2 separate regions of the Homo sapiens genome follow, and region 1 is linked to region 2. Evidence: promoter capture Hi-C in 16 types of primary human blood cells and fetal thymus (Javierre and others, 2016). All regions are on one chromosome and are shown on one strand. The core of a region is centred on a gene start or on the middle of the fragment in contact, and the rest is flanking DNA. Distances in the headings are between cores, read along the strand shown. Region 1 overlaps PITHD1 (PITH domain containing 1). Region 2 holds the start of ID3 (inhibitor of DNA binding 3).

Evidence for each region. The method cuts DNA at HindIII sites, captures the fragments that hold promoters and counts their contacts. A CHiCAGO score of 5 or more calls a contact.
Region 1: a contact is called between a fragment that was not itself captured here and the fragment with the promoter of ID3 in region 2, in 1 of 17 cell types (naive B cells). The highest score is 6.0, in naive B cells.

What each region holds. Positions count from the first base shown.
Region 1 is chr1:23,785,178-23,790,417 of GRCh38, forward strand. PITHD1 (PITH domain containing 1) reads left to right here. Exons shown (of 6, transcript NM_020362.5): 4 at 498-602; 5 at 1,138-1,246; 6 at 2,098-3,055. The coding sequence ends at 2,199. Among named protein-coding and RNA genes, the nearest start is that of LYPLA2, 3.3 kb to the right of the region's middle. The HindIII fragment of the contact is 912 bases long and covers 3,516-4,427 here.
Region 2 is chr1:23,558,251-23,564,206 of GRCh38, forward strand. ID3 (inhibitor of DNA binding 3) reads right to left here and starts at 1,251. Exons shown (of 3, transcript NM_002167.5): 1 at 877-1,251; 2 at 685-769; 3 at 1-165. The coding sequence starts at 1,176. The coding sequence ends at 710. All of the region lies in intron 2 of LOC124903876 (a long non-coding RNA gene), which reads left to right. RefSeq lists an enhancer at 121-250 and silencers at 1,191-1,450, 1,318-1,564. The HindIII fragment of the contact is 2,494 bases long and covers 1-1,920 here.

The DNA.
Region 1 (5,240 bases), core at 2,722-5,221, 230 kb after region 2:
AGCTCTTTTTTTGTTGGATTAAAGATATTTGTAGGCTAGACGCGGTGGCTCATGCCTGTAATTCCAGCACTTTCGGAGACCGACGTAGGCGGATCACCTGAGGTTGGGAGTTAGAGACCAGCATTGCCAACATGGTGAAACCCTGTCTTTACTAAAAGTACCAAAATTTGCCGGGCATGGTGGCGTACGCCTGTAGTCCCAGCTACTCAGGAGGCTGAGGCATGAGAGTCACTTGAACCTGGGAGGTGGAGGTTGCAGTGAGCTGAGATTGTACCATTGCACTCCAGCCTGGGTGACACAGTGAGACTCTGTCTCAAAAAAAAAAAAAAAAAAGATATTTGGAGATACTTGTATAAAATGTCATTTCTAAAATATGACCCCCAAATTCAGTCTCCTATTGATAGAACCAAAGCCATTTAAGCAGTCAGTAGAAAATTTTGAAAACCTGAAACGTGATAATGCACATTTCTTGACTTTTCTTTCCTTTCCTTTCTCAGGTACAAGAATATTCCACAGATGTCCTTTGATGATACAGAAAGGGAGCCAGATCAGACCTTTAGTCTGAACCGGGATCTTACAGGAGAATTAGAGTATGCTACAAAGTAAGCACTGGGCCTGTCTTCCATTCTCTATGGCTTCTTATAGGGCTTGCCATTTATTTTTGGCCAGTCTCCTGCTCTCTTAGCATTGGAAATGAGTTAAAACAGTGGAGGAGACTTGATCTTTGGCTTGGTCAGTTTTTGGCAGAGATTCAGTGCAAGCCACAGACTTGTTAACTTGCAAGCAATTGGCAGATCTGAATGAACTCCTAGGGTGGTTTTAGGAAAGATGTGTCTCCCATTAGTTTAGGTTAACACTAAATGTGCTTTAGAATCCCTGCTGGGTTATGCAGCATTTCTCATTCCTGTTCCTTGAGGGCAGGAGCAGTGTTTATCCCTACTGCCTTGGACAGGATCTGGCAGGTGCTCAGTAAATGGTCATTGAATTAATTGCCTGTCCAAAGGAGAAGGAAGAACTCAGGAGCTCTGACTTTGCCTGGCTTTTACAAGCTGGAGCTGAATTGTTGTTTCACATGGTGGTGAGATACTCATTGAACTATAATTCATACCTTCTTTCCCTATTCCTGTCATCCTCTAGAATTTCTCGTTTTTCAAATGTCTATCATCTCTCAATTCATATTTCAAAAAACTTCGGAGCAGATACGACAAAGGTCTTTTATATTGGCCTGAGAGGAGAGTGGACTGAGGTAAGATGGGGTTGGAAAGGTTTTCCCCTCATGTCTACATATCTGCACACTGTGGTGATGGGAGCTTCCAGGGAAGGGAAAAGAGCAAGTGTCATAATTACTCCCAGTTTATTATTTTTCTTGGTTTTATCAGTATAAACTTTTCGTCTCATTTGAGAAACTACAGGTATTTTTAAGGGGGTTGAAACTGTTATTTTTATATAAATAATATATATAATATATATATATATATCTCAGCTCACTGCGACCTCCGCCTCCCAGGTTCAAGTGATTCTCCTGCCTCAGCCCCCCAAGTAGCTGGGATTACAGGTGCCCACTCCCACGCCTGGCTAATTTTTTTGTATTTTTAGTAGAGACAGGGTTTCACCATGTTGGCCAGGCTGGTCTCGAACTCCTGACCTCAGGTGATCTGCCCATCTCAGCCTCCCAAAATGTTGGGATTACAGGTGTGAGCCACCTTGCCCAGCCTGAAATTGTCATTTATATTAATTCACAGTTTTCTACTTTCAAATGCTTTCATTGAGTATTTTTGATAATCTTTTCTATTCATGAACCAGGGATAAGATAATACCATAGACAAGTTCCTATTCTCATGGTACCCCCATTATAGTAGGGAGACTGAATCTTCAAAGTTACAGGGTGAATCAATGATAATGATCTTTGCAGCTTTCTGGAGTTAAAAAGTATCAAAATTGGGAGATATTAGATGATGACATCTAAGTATTAAAATAAGGAGATATTAAATGATGACTCCTAGAAATGAACCTGAATAAGGACTACCGCAATGTGTGTGGTGTGGGAAAGGACAGTTCTTTTAATGGCTGGCTGACCCAGCCTCAATTTTCTTGCAGCTTCGCCGACACGAGGTGACCATCTGCAATTACGAAGCATCTGCCAACCCAGCAGACCATAGGGTCCATCAGGTTACCCCACAGACACACTTTATTTCCTAAGGGCTGGCCAAGGCTCCCATAGAGGCGCTGTGTCAGTGAAGATGTACGACTACCTGTTGGGAAGGACAAAGGGATGAGGCTCCAGAGAGAGTTGGCTGCCACAGCCTCTGCCAAGCTTTGTCTTTGGGGCTTGCTGCAGAAACCTGGCCTACGGAAGATACGACACCACTGGGAGGGTTGTGTAGGTGCCAGGGGACCATCGTGGTTCTCTAGGGCGCTGTGGAAATTGGGTCTTGGGCTGGGTGGCATCTGGCAGTCATGGGTAACACTTGCTTTTCCAGTTAATGTGGCCATGTGATTCCAAGTGTCATGTTGCTTTGTGGCAAGATTGTTGTGTGACTTGTTTTTTTGTTTTTGTTTTTGTTTTTTTAAAGGAAACTATTTGTGGGCTATAGGAAACTTTCTGATGCCTCCGGATTGTGTTAGTAGTAGCCATCAGGAGGGTCTCCAACTAAAACACTTGTTCCTGCTTGCTCCTTTCCCCTCTCATTGTTCAGCATTCTTGTCAAGTTGCCCAGCTTGGAGTTGTCTGTCACGCACATGTGTCCTGTGGTTATAGCTAGAAGGACAGGAGTCTCCTGCTGATGCGTGATAGCTTAAGCTTGGGGAGAAGGTCTTTTCCACTGCCTAGCTAAGCAGTCTGGGGAGAGCATGGGGATCATTTCTATGTGTGTGGGTAATCTGGTCAGTAAGATTGAGACTTAGTTAAGATTCCCCTTGGAAATTCCTTAATGTTTATTAGCTTCTAACTAGTGTTGTAAGTCCGATGCCAGAATTTGGAGATTTGAGTTCTTCTTTTCATGGCTTTTATTCACTGTGACTAATAAGCTTCCTAATAAATCCTTGCCAGACTTAATGTTTGTATTTTCTTTTGAGTTCTTGATAGCCACTGATGCAACTTTCATTTCATGGGGAACTGTACTGAACTTTGAAATTTTTTGTTGTTGTTTTGGACTAGGTAGATTATAGGAAGTGCCACAATTAAATCAAGACTGGAGCCGGGCGCGGTGGCTCACGCCTGTAATCCCAGCACTTTGGGAGGCCGAGGTGGGCGGATCACGAGGTCAGGAGATCGAGACCACGGTGAAACCGTCTCTACCAAAAATACAAAAAATTAGCCGGGTGCGGTGGCGGGAGCCTGTAGTCCCAGCTACTCAGGAGGCTGAGGCAGGAGAATGGCATGAACCCGGGAAGCGGAGCTTGCAGTGACCTGAGATTGCACCACTGCACTCCAGCCTGGGTGACAGAGTGAGACTCCGTCTCAAAAAAAAAAAAAAAAAAAATCAAGACTGGATCAGTTTCTCCAGGAATGGTCAAGCTTAATTTTGTACAGTAGGCCAAAAACACTCCTACACCCATATATAGTAAAGAAGAAGGTGGGGTTGAAAACCTGTATTTCACAGAAATTAACTGGGCATGGTGGCGTGCACCTGTAGTCCCAGCCACTTGGGAGGCTGAGGTGGGAGGATCACTGGAGCCCAGGAGGTCGAGGCTACAGTAAGCCATGATTGCGCCACTGCACCCCAGCCTGAGGCAACAGAGTGAGACCTTGTCTCAAAACAACAACAACAAAACCCTATATTTCATTTTGCACAAAAGGAAGTGATTTGTAGAATGACATTTACAAAAATAAGGGAGAACAGATTTTGGAGCTCATCAGAAGAAATGAGGGTGAGGAAAGTAATTGAGCAGCTCATGTGGTCTCCAGGTAGACCAAAGACTTTGGACTTAAATTTTGAAAGTCAGTTTAGCAATTGAAGAGAATGTAAGTATCTAAAAAGGGGATTTGATATGGTCAGTATTCTCTCCCTTGCAGAAAACAGGAACAGGTAATAAAGGGAATTAGTGTTGAATCTGATCCTTTTGGGAGAATTCCTCTGAGGCATTGGCCCATGCTGTTGTTTGGAGGATATAGCCACTGTTTCTCCAGCCTGTCCTAGGAAAGGTCTGCTACCACCAAACCTTGTTGGCCCTCAAAATTTCTAAAATGCAGCCTGAAATAAACCAGAATGCAAATGCTGTTCTTGAAAAGCATGAAGGGTCCTATTCACTCAGCCACAGCCTCTTTATTTCAGTTGGATCATTTTTTGGAGTTAAAAGAAGGGCTATGTTTAAATTTGGAGTAGGGGGAAAAATAAAGTTAAAAATCTTAGAGCAGACTAGCCCTTCACTAATTCCACTAATTAAAGCATTAATCACAGCTCCTGGGACTGAGCCTCTGAATTTGAAGCTTCACTCTGAAGAATTTGTTTTAAGTGTCATGGTGTCTCAGGTGATCGAGGTTGCAGGAGGAACTGTTCATTCTTCCATAAGTGGGGACATTACCCTCCATTTTCTTTTGACATTCAGTCCTGGGTCCTTGGCTTGTGGTGGTCCCATAGGCTCAAAGGTTTCCTGCCCCGAATCCTGGTATTGTAGGCTCCCTGACCTGTTGAGTACTTAGGACCAAAGTGCCTCTGGGCCTGGGGGAAAGTGCTTTGTTGAGCTTCCAACTTTGTACTGTTTTCTTTTTCTTTTCTTTCTTTTTTTTTTTTTTTTTTTTTTGAGACAGAGTCTCGCTTTGTTGCCCAGGCTGGAGTGTAGTGGCACTATCTTGGCTCACTGCAAGCTCCGCCTCCCGGGTTCACGCCATTCTCCTGCCTCAGCCTCCCCCCGAGTAGCTAGGACTACAGGCGCCCGCCACAGCGCCAGGCTAATTTTTTGTATTTTTAGTAGAGACAGGGTTTCACCGTGTTAGCCAGGATGGTCTCGATCTCCTGACCTCGTGATCCGCCCGCCTCAGCCTCCCAAAGTGCTGGGATTACAGGAGTGAGCCACCGCGCCTGGCTGTACTGTTTTCTTTCTGTTCAAAGAAAACACTAGTATAGGTTAGGCTGGGAGAGTGAGTCCTAAGCGGCTGAGGGTCAAGTGTGACTCATTTCCTATTTGCAGATCCCCACACATTCTCAGGGACATGCTCCTTCAACTCAGTTTGCCTGCCTTCTGACTTTTCTGTGGTCCCTGATACCTATTTCCACTTCAGCTTGATGGCAGCGTTTTGT
Region 2 (5,956 bases), core at 1-2,500:
CCACAAGTTCACAGTCCTTCGCTCCTGAGCACCAGGTTTAGTCTCCAGGAAGGGATTTGGTGAAGTCAAGTGGGCAGGGCGAAGTTGGGGCCCATCCCTGCCGTCCGGCTTCCGGCAGGAGAGGTTCCCGGGGTCCCAGGCAGAACGGGCGCCAGCACCTGCGTTCTGGGCGGGGGAGGAAAGAAGACCAAGGAGCAGTCAGTTTCCGCCGAGCGTGCCGAGGCGGGGGCCGTCCGCAGACTGGCCGGCGCCAGGGAGGAAACTTGGTCTGTACCTCCAGCTGATAACTCCGCGCCCCACGCTGCCCCCACCCAGTTGGCGCCAAAGACCACAGGCGGAGCTTGCGCTACCCCTCCTACTTGGAATTGACACTAGCTGGGAGGGGGCTGCCGAAGACAGCTCCCTATACAACATGGAACAGAAAGACTTGTATTTAGTCGGACCCATGTCTACTTTGCCAGACCCTCGGCCACTGCGGGAGGGCAGGGCCCAGGCGCATTTAAGGCTTAAATGCACATCACATGGAAACTGACTCTGCCATTCATTTGATGCAACCATGGGCAAGTCACTTGTCCCTCTCTGGCCTCAGTTTCCCTAAACCGAGTGAGTGGCAATTTTTCAAAACGTCTGCCAACTCCAGGACTTGCCGTTTAAACCTCCCTCTCCAAGAGAGGAGATACTCACCTGGAGGTGTCAGGACACGGCCGAGTCAGTGGCAAAAGCTCCTTTTGTCGTTGGAGATGACAAGTTCCGGAGTGAGCTCGGCTGTCTGATTAGAGGAAAAGAGGGAAGAGTTACGCGAGGCAATCGGGAGCTCCGAGGGTCCCGCAGCATCCTTGCCTGGGTGTTCAGCCCTGTCCCGACTTCGAGGCTTACCTGGATGGGAAGGTGGGGGCCATCAGGGGGTCCAGGGGCTGGCTCGGCCAGGACTACCTGCAGGTCGAGAATGTAGTCGATGACGCGCTGTAGGATTTCCACCTGGCTAAGCTGAGTGCCTCTCGGGACTCCGGGTACCAGTTCCCGCAGGCGGGAGTAGCAGTGGTTCATGTCGTCCAGCAAGCTCAGCGGCTCCTCAGCTGCCGGGCCCTTCCCTCGGCCCCGGGCGATGGCCAGACTGCGTTCCGACAGGCAGCACACCGCCTCGTAGCAGCCGCGCACCGGGCTCAGCGCCTTCATGCTGGGGAGTGAGTCCAGAGGTGCCCCAAAGAGAAAGAAAACCAAAAGAAGTCCCGCTACAGTGACCTGCAACGCGCGCACGCTCGCCGCGGCGGTCACTTATAGAGCCTGCCTGGAAGGCACGCCTCTTTATTCAAAATGGCCCGCCTCGGCCCTGCCCCCGCCGGCCCTGGGCGTTCACAGCCCGCTTAAATTGCAAACAGGCTTCCTCCGGCTGGTCTGACGCCGAAGACCGCGGAGCCGCGGATTCAAAGAATGAGGAAGCGCTGATACCGGGGAGAGGCGGGCCTCTCCGCCAGCAAGGATTTAAAAATCACTCAAAACCATTAACTTCCAGAATTTGCTTTTTCCTGGCAGCACCCCAGATCTTTGAGCTTCCCTGCCCCCTGCCAGTCCGCCTTTAGCCCAACACTGGTTCGAGCCACAGCTCCTCCGAGGTCATAAATCCCTGAACAGCAAAGAAGCTCCCCCCACCCCCCGTTTTTTTTAAGCGAAAGATTTTTCAAGGGAAACTTGTAAGGAATTAGTGCCGCCTTGTTCCCCAATTTGCTGTTCGTCTGACCTCCAGACTCACTGGCGTCAGGAATTATCTTGTGACCAGAGGGAAAAAAAATTAATTGCGGTGAAGCTGAGGTTACAATGAAGAAAACAGATTTGCGCTAGGCGCTGAGATTGCAGAAGGAGGAGGGAAAGGGGGTTTGAGCAAAGAACACTATTTATTTGAGCAACAGGGGAAAAGAAGAAAGCTTGAGCCCATGCTTTTTGCATGGGGAAAAAAGGAGCCTGGACCCTCTGCCCCATAAACTCCATAACGAACTAAATATATGCACAGTTGTGCTTTGTGAGTTCAATTAGAATTTTGGACAAGGTTTTAAATATGGAGGCACAGATGGGACAATTTCTACATAAACCTTTTTAAGAGCCCCCCCCCACCCAATTGGGTCAGCAAATTTCTTAACTTCCCCTCTCTTCACTTTCCACACACCTCTGTGTAGAAAACAGTGGTAATTTCATTGCTCTATTGTCTGTCCCTTTCTGCTATGGAAGGGCAGGCCACCTGGACTTGATTATTCTTAGCCCTGCTGAAGTAGCTCCAGCTCCATCTGAAAGACCAGGAAAGGAACCAGAGGGCCGGCAAACTAAGTCCTGTATTGCAACAGGACACTGTGCTCAGTATTCTTTGATTCTTTGCTTGCCTTCTTGTCACCTCCCTAGACATTTGGGGACCTGCACTTCCAAGATGCTGCTTTCCATTTTGGAAATGACCAAGTGGGATTCCCCCAATAGTTGCTTTCCTAATGAATCATTGGTGAATATTTATGGAGTCCCTCCGCATAAAACAGTGGCTCCTGCTTTCAAGAATCTCACAATTTGGGGAGACAAGATTAACACAGGAAACAAGAGTTCGATAATGTGTGGCACTGATTAACAGGACAAGGGGGGCTCAGAGCCAAAGAGAGTCGCAAAACGGTTGAAAAGGACACTGACTGGGAATTGAGAGCCCTGGGTTCATCATGCTAGCCCTGACAATAATTTGTCATGTAATCTTGAACAAGCCCAGGTACTCTGGCTTTAATTGCCTTGTGAGTAAAATAGACGATGGTACTAAGTGATTATTTAAAATCCTTTCCAATTGTAGAAGTCCAAGGTTGTGTGAAATTTGGATATGTAGGTGAAAGATGCTGAGGGGCCCAAGGAAGGCATTTAAGACATGCCCAATGTCACACTACAAGTAATAGCAGAGCCAGTCTTGAAGCCTCGTTCTTTTCCATCAAACCACAGGGCTCTGTGGCCCAAGAAAGATTTCTTCCTGGAATGTTTTTTTCAAGGACAGGCTCTTCAGTAAGAAAAGAGGAAGAAAACCTGTGAGTGGGCAAGTCAGTCTTTACATGCTACAGCCGTCAAGTGCCAGCTATTTGGTCAGGAAAGGCAAAATAATGGCTGTAGGAACTCCTGAATAACCGAAGAGAAGATCCTTCTTTTCCTATCTTGCAGACTTCTGTGGCAAAACGGTCAAGTCCAGAGGGTTCTAGAAAAATCACGGGCCAGGCAGATTTCTGTGCAAATGCCCATTCTTCTTCTTCTTCTTCTTTTTTTGTTTAAACTAATTGTGTAGACTTTGGCTGAGTTATCCTGGGTGCTTCTATTTTCCCATCTATAAAATGGAACTAATTGGGTCTACTCATTCATTCATTCGATAATTATTGAATGCCTCTTCTCTGCAAAGCACTTGATGTGTTCACTCCATCTGATCTTAGTCTTCTTACTGCCTGGGGGACCCAGCATGGGCCAGTTGTGTGGAAGGTGCTCAGTCTACCCAGATTCTCCTCCCTTCTTTTCCTTCCTCTACTACTGCAGCTGATGCCTCAGGCTTGTATAGTGATTTAGGTTTGCAAAGCACCTTCGCATTTATTATTTCCCAGGATGCTTCCAGGCTGAAATGCCCATGGGCTGTGTGACATAAGGCAGAAGGATGCTGTGGAATTAGCAAGCAAAATTCTGTTCTGTGCATGCCAATAATTTGCAGTGTGCCCTTGGACGAATTTCCTCCCTTCCTGGGCTTCATTTTCTCTTTAAAAAAAAAAAAAAAAAAAAGATAGTGGGTAGGTTGGGAGGAAGCAAGTGCCCTTTAATGGTCCTCTCTAGCCTAAGATTCTAATTCTGAAAGAAGCAGGTTATGGTTAGGAACACTGAATAGTGTTTAAACCCAAGAGACTTCTTTTTCCCCACAGCAGACTGGACAGGCTAGCTCAGGCCTTCTGCAACTTGTTTAGCAGTGGTGGGGCCTCAGCCTCTTATTCCAAATGCCTCTGAACTTTCTGTTCCCAGTTCTGCTCCTTTTACCAGCTTTTTCCCCCCTCTTGCATTTTTTATTTTTATGAAAGGATGTCATTAAGGCTTTTGTCTGCGCTGTTTTTGTTTCAGAACTTTTCTCACAATCCTATTTTTTGTTGAGGAATCCGCTCCTTTGCCCAGCTGTGGGTCCCGGTCCCACAGCTGTGTTGATCTAAGACTCAGCCCCAGACAGCCTGGCGCCAGGGTGGGACGTCATGCGTTCACACAGGGATGCGTGTCCCAGGCAACCTTTCCTCGGGCAGTCACCGGCCGGCGACTGCCTCCCCCACCAATGAGCGCCGGACACCCGAGAAAGGGGCGGGGTCTGCATCGCCCCAACCGCGAGCGGCTTGTGAATTGCAGATGCTGAGAACTTGATAATGTTGCTTCAATTGGGGCCCTTTAAAGTCTTTTTTTTTCTTTCTCTTTTAGTTCTTTATTTTCTTTTGTCTATTCCCTTTCTTTCCACCTTCTTCCTTTATCTATATATGTGTATAATTTTTCTTCTTCTTTTTTCTAACTATCTCCTCCCAGTGTCAGGAATCATTTTGTAAGCATTTCCAGGAACTCAATCTTCCTCTGCCAAAATAAAAAAAAGAAAAAAAAATTCAATGTTGTGCTCTCTGATTTTTTTTTTTTTGAGAAGTTGGCAGAACTCTTTAAGTTATACTGTTTTGTTTTTTAAAAAATTTTAGAATTTTTTAATTTCGTGGTAGTGGGCTCTCTAAATTGTTGATTTCAAAGTCAAAGTAATGATGACAAGGATTGCAGATGCCTTTTTGTCTAAGCTGAGCCTCTATTTATTATCTATCTATCATCTTTTTCCCATTTATGTCCCAGACATGGGGATCATGGGGACCTCAGAAACTTGCTCACGTTTACTTGGGATGTCAGTAGCTGGCCTATGGCCAGAACCCAGACCTCCTCTCATTTGACTCTCTGTCCACTCTGCCCTCTCTCTCTTTTTTTTTTTTGGGATGGAGTCTCACTCCGTCGCCCAGGGTGGAGTGCAGTGTTGTGATCTCGGCTCACCGCAACCTCCACCTCCTGGGTTCAAACGATTCTTCTGTCTCAGTCTCCTGAGTAGCTGGGACTACAGGCGCACGCCACCACACCCGGCTAATTTTTGTATTTTTAGTAGAGACAGGGTTTCACCATATTGGTCAGGCTGGTCTCGAACTCCTGACCTCATGATCCGCCCGACTTGGTCTCCCAAAGTGCTGGGATTACAGGTGTGAGCCACCGCGCCCGGCACTCTTAATAGCATTAGGGTGGTCTTAGAACATTCCCAAATGCCACATTTCATAATATGTATCTCCTTGCTCATAAGTGCCTAGAAGGTGTGGTGAGGACTTTGCAGTCACACACATAGAACATCCCTTCTCCTTCTCCTCCCCTCAGAGAGTCTGGAGCCCAAAGTATTGCTTGAGATTCAGGTGATACAAGGAAAGCACAGGGGATTCAGAATCAAGACCAGGCTCAATCCTTGCCCTGACTTCTCCTACCTTCACTCTGTCTCAGCTGTCTCTTCTATTAAATTGGGAGGAAAATACCATCCATCTACCTCACAGCTGGGAGAGTCAAAGGGGACAAGGGATGGAAAATGGTGTGGGAAACAGTTATTTTTATGTGCTGTAATGTGATGTAGCCCCTGTTGAGTGGGATAGGTGGTACCAAGTGAGTTGAGTGGTCCCTGCTGAGGCTGTTGTCAGGAATGTGAGGAGCATCAGGATCTAAGGCATGAGTCCTTACAGGGGTGGGGATTTCAAAGGCCTCCAGGATGGGCTACTCTCTAACTCAGAAGCACTCAGCGCCACCGCCACCATCATCATTCATTGAGTTCTGTTTGCCAAGTCCTGTTTGCCTTCTTACACATTTTCCCGCTGATCCCTTTTATAGACAGAGAGACAGTGGCTCAGAAAGGTGAATGTGCTTGCCCAAGGTC